2 separate regions of the Homo sapiens genome follow, and region 2 is linked to region 1. The links are contacts of gene promoters, found by promoter capture Hi-C in human tissues and cell types (Jung and others, 2019). All regions are on one chromosome and are shown on one strand. The core of a region is centred on a gene start or on the middle of the fragment in contact, and the rest is flanking DNA. Distances in the headings are between cores, read along the strand shown.

Region 1 (3,722 bases), core at 212-2,711:
TAACTACATATACTCCTTCAGTATGATATTGCTCCCAAAAGTGTAAAAGTTATTTTTGAGTGTGTTGACAAATCTTGGGTATTTCGGTGATTGGTAGCACTCTAAAACTCAACTCTATCTGACAAAACCTTATTCCTTAGTACTTTTTTTCCATTGGGTTATCTTGTGTATCACATGAAAAGTACTGACATTGAGTTCATGGAAGATACACACAAGGTATATAAGATCAGCGTTACAAACCTATGTCAAATGGGTGCTGTGATTGGAGGAATTTCTAAGGTTTACTAGACATCAAAGTCATAACATCTGAGGTGGCCTCTGTATACATATGGGCTGTCATTAGCCATCTTGTGAATGTTGCTTATGTTTAATCCTTAGCATTTCTGACTGTGCTGTGGGCTTTCAGAATTAAATGCAAATACTTTATATTTTATTATTTAATTCTACTAAAGGTGCTCAATACATCAATAATTATGTCAAGCACTGAAGAGAAAAAAATCTATACAATATCTGGATGAATATCTAGCAGCTAGTGAAGTTAAACATTTTCTAACATGACAGAAAATTAAGTTAGACTAAAAGTAAATGTTAAAAAATTAAATTTTAGTAGTCTTTAGCAGTTTTAAATGATTTTTAAGTATTTTATAATATTAGGTATTATTATGTGTTTTTATAATTTGTTAATTTGCTGATGGAATTGGACACATTACAATTTATATAGGTAAATAAATCATTTTAAAGACACAAACAAATTGAGTTAAATGTCCATGGGTTTTAAATTTAACTATTAACTTTTAGCTTAAAAATTTCATTTGGTCTTCTTTTTTTCTTTCTTTCTTTTTTTTTTTGAGATGGAGACTCGCTCTGTCACCCAGGCTGGAGTGCAATGTTGCAATCTTGGCTCACTGCAACCACTGCCTCCCGGGTTCAAGCAATTCTCCTGCTCCAGCCACCTGAGTAGCTAGGATTACAGGCACCTGCCACCATGCCCGACTAATTTTTGTATTTTTAGCAGAGACGGGGTTTCACCATGTTGGCAAGTCTGGTCTTGAACTGCTGACCTCGTGATCCATCTGCCTTGGTCTCCCAAAGTGCTGGAATTACAAGTGTGAGCCACCGGGCCCAGCCCATTTGGTCATTCTTAACACTATGTTAAATAAAAAGATTAAACTTTACACTCCTTATAAATAGATATGTACAGTATATCAACAAATATATGGTATGTCTGTGTTATTAAAATTTAATGGGACTTTGAATTAGAAAGAAATTTCTAAAAAGCCCATGGGGCAGGGAAAGATGAGGTAATACTGAAAATAAAAGTGGTTGAGAAACTGCTCTACACCCATGTAGACAGGACATAAAGGAAAGCCAAAAGAGAAGTAGAAAAAAACATGAAGACGTTCAGAAAATGGAAGCTAGTATGTTCCTTATTTAAGACCTATGCACAGAGCAAGGTCTTCAGAAAACCTACAACCCAAGGTTCAGTGTTACCCCTCATCAACCAGCCCAGCAGCATCTTCGGGATTCCCAATGGCATTGCCCTTTGCTTTAATGATGGCCCTGGTGGTGCTCAGCTGCAAGTCAAGCTGCTCTCTGGGCTGTAATCTGTCTCAAACCCACAGCCTGAATAACAGGAGGACTTTGATGCTCATGGCACAAATGAGGAGAATCTCTCCTTTCTCCTGCCTGAAGGACAGACATGACTTTGAATTTCCCCAGGAGGAATTTGATGGCAACCAGTTCCAGAAAGCTCAAGCCATCTCTGTCCTCCATGAGATGATGCAGCAGACCTTCAATCTCTTCAGCACAAAGAACTCATCTGCTGCTTGGGATGAGACCCTCCTAGAAAAATTCTACATTGAACTTTTCCAGCAAATGAATGACCTGGAAGCCTGTGTGATACAGGAGGTTGGGGTGGAAGAGACTCCCCTGATGAATGAGGACTCCATCCTGGCTGTGAAGAAATACTTCCAAAGAATCACTCTTTATCTGATGGAGAAGAAATACAGCCCTTGTGCCTGGGAGGTTGTCAGAGCAGAAATCATGAGATCCCTCTCTTTTTCAACAAACTTGCAAAAAAGATTAAGGAGGAAGGATTGAAAACTGGTTCATCATGGAAATGATTCTCATTGACTAATACATCATCTCACACTTTCATGAGTTCTTCCATTTCAAAGACTCACTTCTCCTATAACCACCACAAGTTGAATCAAAATTTTCAAATGTTTTCAGGAGTGTAAAGAAGCATCATGTATACCTGTGCAGGCACTAGTCCTTTACAGATGACCATGCTGATGTCTCCTTTCATCTATTTATTTAAATATTTATTTATTTAACTATTTTTATTATTTAAATTATTTTTTATGTAATATCATGTGTACCTTTACATTGTGGTTAATATAACAAATATGTTCTTCATATTTAGCCAATATATTAATTTCCTTTTTCATTAAATTTTTACTATACAAAATTTCTTGTGTTTGGTTATTTTTTAAGATAAAACGTCAAGCCTGACTGTACAACCTGATTTCAAAATAGATGATTTAATCAAGTTACCTATCATAATTTTATTCAAGTTATAGAAAAATACATTTTCTATACCAGGTTATATGTTGCCTTAAGGATGTAAACATGAATATAAAAAATACAGCTCCTGTTCTCTTGTATCTTTGATTTTTGTCAGGAAATAAATCTAAAAACAATAATAATGCTGAATTAATATCAGTTATACAAACTGCTGTATGGTAACGAAGTAAAAAAGCAATGAATTCTTCTTAGCACAAGGTAGATTGAGACATGTCTGGAAAAAAAAGTAGAGATAAACTGACTTTCAAACATGTAATTGAAAATGTACATTGCCAGTCAGATATATGAGTTTGCAGTTTCCAAGGAATACGATATCTGGAAGTTCATAACTGGCAATGGAAAGGCCAAAAATGAAGGCTGTCATGTGGGGAGGAAGTGGAGAGGGAAAAAAGACTTAAACTGGATTCTGAGGACCTTCCACCATTAAAGTGTGGGAACAGAAGAGACACAAAGAAAACAGAGGTGGAATACCTCAATATTAGAAGGAGAAGAGGGAATGATGATAAAAGTGTATTTAGAAAACAAACATGCTTATAAAAAGAATCAATAGACTTATAGAAAATGTGAATTAAAACTGAGCACTACAGGAAGAAAATAGATGGCAATGCAGAGATTACTGAGAGCTGGATTGATAGAATTAATCAGCAGAAGCCATACTGGGGTAGGTAGAAGAATCAATGAGAAAAGAAAAATCAGGATAACACATACAGAAAATTGTGAAAGATCTGCCTTTGCAATGGAGGGAAGTAATAAGTTGGACCCGCCAAAAATGTGGATTATCTTTTATCTGCATAGTGTTTCCTTTTTGAAAATACATGTCAATGAATAAATTTCATAAATGTGATGCACTGATAAATCATATTAATACATTTAATATTTTATATATTTAAAGCATAAAATGTAAAATTATTTACAATAGTAATTGATCATTATTTTGATTAATACTCTGTTAAATGTCAGTAAAAACTGACACATTTCTTTCATAAAATAAAATTGGAAACTGGAAAAGAGAATCTCTTTCTCAATACTTTAGGAATGGGGAAAGGATTCCCTATTTAATAAATGGTGCTGGGAAAACTGGATAGCCATATGCAGAAAACTGAAACTGGACCCTTCCTTACATCTTATACAAAAAT
Region 2 (3,227 bases), core at 328-2,827, 130 kb before region 1:
GTTGGTCAGGCTGGTCTCAAACTCCCAACCTCAGATGATCCGTCTGCCTCGGCCTCTCAAAGTGCTGGCATTACACATGTGAGCCACGACGCCCGGCCACTTGTGTTATCTTTTTGTTCCCATTAGTTAGGATGCAAAAAGTGACAACTTTTGCTTTCTATGAAAATGAAATGAGAAAGAAAGATATCTGGTGTCTGGCATGCTATGTAAAACAATTGTCTACTTATTTATGTTATTATATTTACATCCTATTATGCGCATCTAGGACAAAGATAGTTTCCTTTAGTTTGCTAGGAATCAGCAAAGAACCTCTGAAGGCACCTTGGAAATTTGAACTTTCATGCAAAAAATTTTTAATCAAATCGAGGATGTTTTTTCAATTGTGTATTCTCATTGCATATGATACTACTCCCAAGGATGTAGAAGTTAGTTCTTGGGAGTGGGAACAAATCTTACATATTTAAATGGTTTGTGGCCCTTCAAAGCTCAACCTATTTAACAAAATCTTATTCCTTAGTTTTTTTTTTTTTCTCTCCATTGGGTTTTCTTGTGTATCACATGAGAAGCACTGACATTGAGTTCATGGAAGATACACAAAAGGTATAAAAGTTCAGCATTACAAACCTATGGCAAATGGGTAGCTGTGATTGGAGTACTTTCCAAGATGTATTAGATCTCAAAGTCATATCATGAGAGGTGTCCTCTGCATACATATGGTTTGTCACTGGCCATCTTATAGATATTGCTTATGTTTGATCCTTAGCATTTCTGTCTGTGTTGTGGGCTTTGAAATGAAATATAAATAATTTATATTTTAACAATTCTACTGAAGTTGTTCAACACATCTATATTTAGGTCAAGAATTGAAGAAAAAATTCTTCACACTCTCTAGGTGAGTATCTAGCAGCTAGTGAAGTTAAAAATTTTCTCACATGCAACAAAATTAAAAGTTAAGTATAATAAAAATAAATGATAAAAATATTTTAAATTATTAAGTCTTTATCAGTTTCAAATAATTCATAAACATTCATTACTTAGCTGTATAATGTTTATCTAGAAACATTAGATAATGTTTATAATTTGTTAAATTTCTTATGTAATTTAATACATTACAATTTATATCAGTAAATAAACTATATTGAAGCCCACAAGCAAATTTAGTTATAAAGTTAAGTTAAATTTGAATAGCGTTTAAATTTAACTTTTATCTTAAAATTTTCATTTGGTTATTTTTAAACTTGCATTGAATAAAATGATTAAACTTTGTACTTTTTGAGTATAGAGATATACATATAGTACACAAATAGATAGATATTATATCTGTGTTATTAAATTTTCACGGTGGGTTCAATTAGGAAAAAAAATCTAAAAAGTCTCTGGGAACAAGATGGGGGAGACAATAATGAAAAACAAAATGGTTGAGAAACACGGCTCTAAACTCATGTAAAGAGTTCAAGAAGGAAAGCAAAAACAGAAATGGAAAGTGGTCCAGAAGCATTAAGAAAGTGGAAATCAGTATGTTCCCTATTTAAGGCATCTGCAGGAAGCAAAGCCTTCAGAGAACCTAGAGCCCAAGGTTCAGAGTCACCCATCTCAGCAAGCCCAGAAGCATCTGCAATATCTATGATGGCCTCGCCCTTTGCTTTACTGATGGCCCTGGTGGTGCTCAGCTGCAAGTCAAGCTGCTCTCTGGGCTGTGATCTCCCTGAGACCCACAGCCTGGATAACAGGAGGACCTTGATGCTCCTGGCACAAATGAGCAGAATCTCTCCTTCCTCCTGTCTGATGGACAGACATGACTTTGGATTTCCCCAGGAGGAGTTTGATGGCAACCAGTTCCAGAAGGCTCCAGCCATCTCTGTCCTCCATGAGCTGATCCAGCAGATCTTCAACCTCTTTACCACAAAAGATTCATCTGCTGCTTGGGATGAGGACCTCCTAGACAAATTCTGCACCGAACTCTACCAGCAGCTGAATGACTTGGAAGCCTGTGTGATGCAGGAGGAGAGGGTGGGAGAAACTCCCCTGATGAATGCGGACTCCATCTTGGCTGTGAAGAAATACTTCCGAAGAATCACTCTCTATCTGACAGAGAAGAAATACAGCCCTTGTGCCTGGGAGGTTGTCAGAGCAGAAATCATGAGATCCCTCTCTTTATCAACAAACTTGCAAGAAAGATTAAGGAGGAAGGAATAACACCTGGTCCAACATGAAACAATTCTTATTGACTCATATACCAGGTCACGCTTTCATGAATTCTGCCATTTCAAAGACTCTCACTTCTGCTATAACTATGACCATGCTGATAAACTGATTTATCTATTTAAATATTTATTTAGCTATTCATAAGATTTAAATTATTTTTGTTCATATAACATCATGTGCATCTTTACACTGTGGTTAGTGTAATAAAACATGTTCCTTATATCTACTCAATTCATTATTTTATGTTGTTCATTAAACTTTTACTATAGGAACTTCCTGTATGTGTTCATTCTTTAATACAAAATTCCTAGCCTGACTGTGCAACCTGATGAGAGAATAAAGGGTATAATTTATTTACTCATCATTATTATATGAGAGATGTAAGTAAAAATGACCTTTCTCTAAACCAGGTTGTATGTTGTACTCAAGTTATAAAGGTGAATACAATAAATCTACTTCCTACTCTCTTGCATGTTTGATTTTTGTATGGAATAAAACTAAAAATAGTAATCATACTTAGTATCAGTTATCCTGAATACTATAAGGAGAAAAAGGAATGAACAATGATTTCTTTCGGCAGGAGGTAAACTGAAACATGTGAGGAAATAAAAATAAACAGATATCCTCTATAAGTTGACTGATACAACATGTGGTAGAAACTGTCTATTGCCAGTTGGATATGTGAGTTTGCAAATTATAAGGAATGCAATTGCTGGGAGTTCATATGTGGCAAGCAAAATCCCAGAAATGAAAGTGCTCATGTGTGGAGAGAGTGTAGACAGAGAAAAGGACTTAAACGTGATTCTAAGGACCTTCCACCTTTAAAGGGAAGGAAGAGAAGAGCCACAAAGGAAACAGAGGGATGGACAAATAGAGACAATGGTGATTAATATGGTCTGGAACTGTGTCTCTGCCTAAATCTCAGGCAGACCAGCCTCTAGAATGTATGTGTGTGTGTGTGTGTGTGTGTATGTGTGTGTGTGTGTATATATATACGTACATATATATATATACGTATATAT

The links. Contacts are between HindIII fragments. The study calls those that stand out against the background at their distance.
Region 2: a contact is called between the fragment with the promoter of IFNA13 here and the fragment with the promoter of IFNA14 in region 1, in 1 of the 25 tissues and cell types used here (neural progenitor cells).

The regions. Positions count from the first base shown.
Region 1 is chr9:21,237,744-21,241,465 of GRCh38, reverse strand. IFNA14 (interferon alpha 14) reads left to right here and starts at 1,461. Exons shown (of 1, transcript NM_002172.3): 1 at 1,461-2,464. The coding sequence starts at 1,531. The coding sequence ends at 2,100. The HindIII fragment of the contact is 10,904 bases long and covers 1-3,722 here.
Region 2 is chr9:21,366,407-21,369,633 of GRCh38, reverse strand. IFNA13 (interferon alpha 13) reads left to right here and starts at 1,577. Exons shown (of 1, transcript NM_006900.4): 1 at 1,577-2,262. The coding sequence starts at 1,624. The coding sequence ends at 2,196. The HindIII fragment of the contact is 15,253 bases long and covers 1-3,227 here.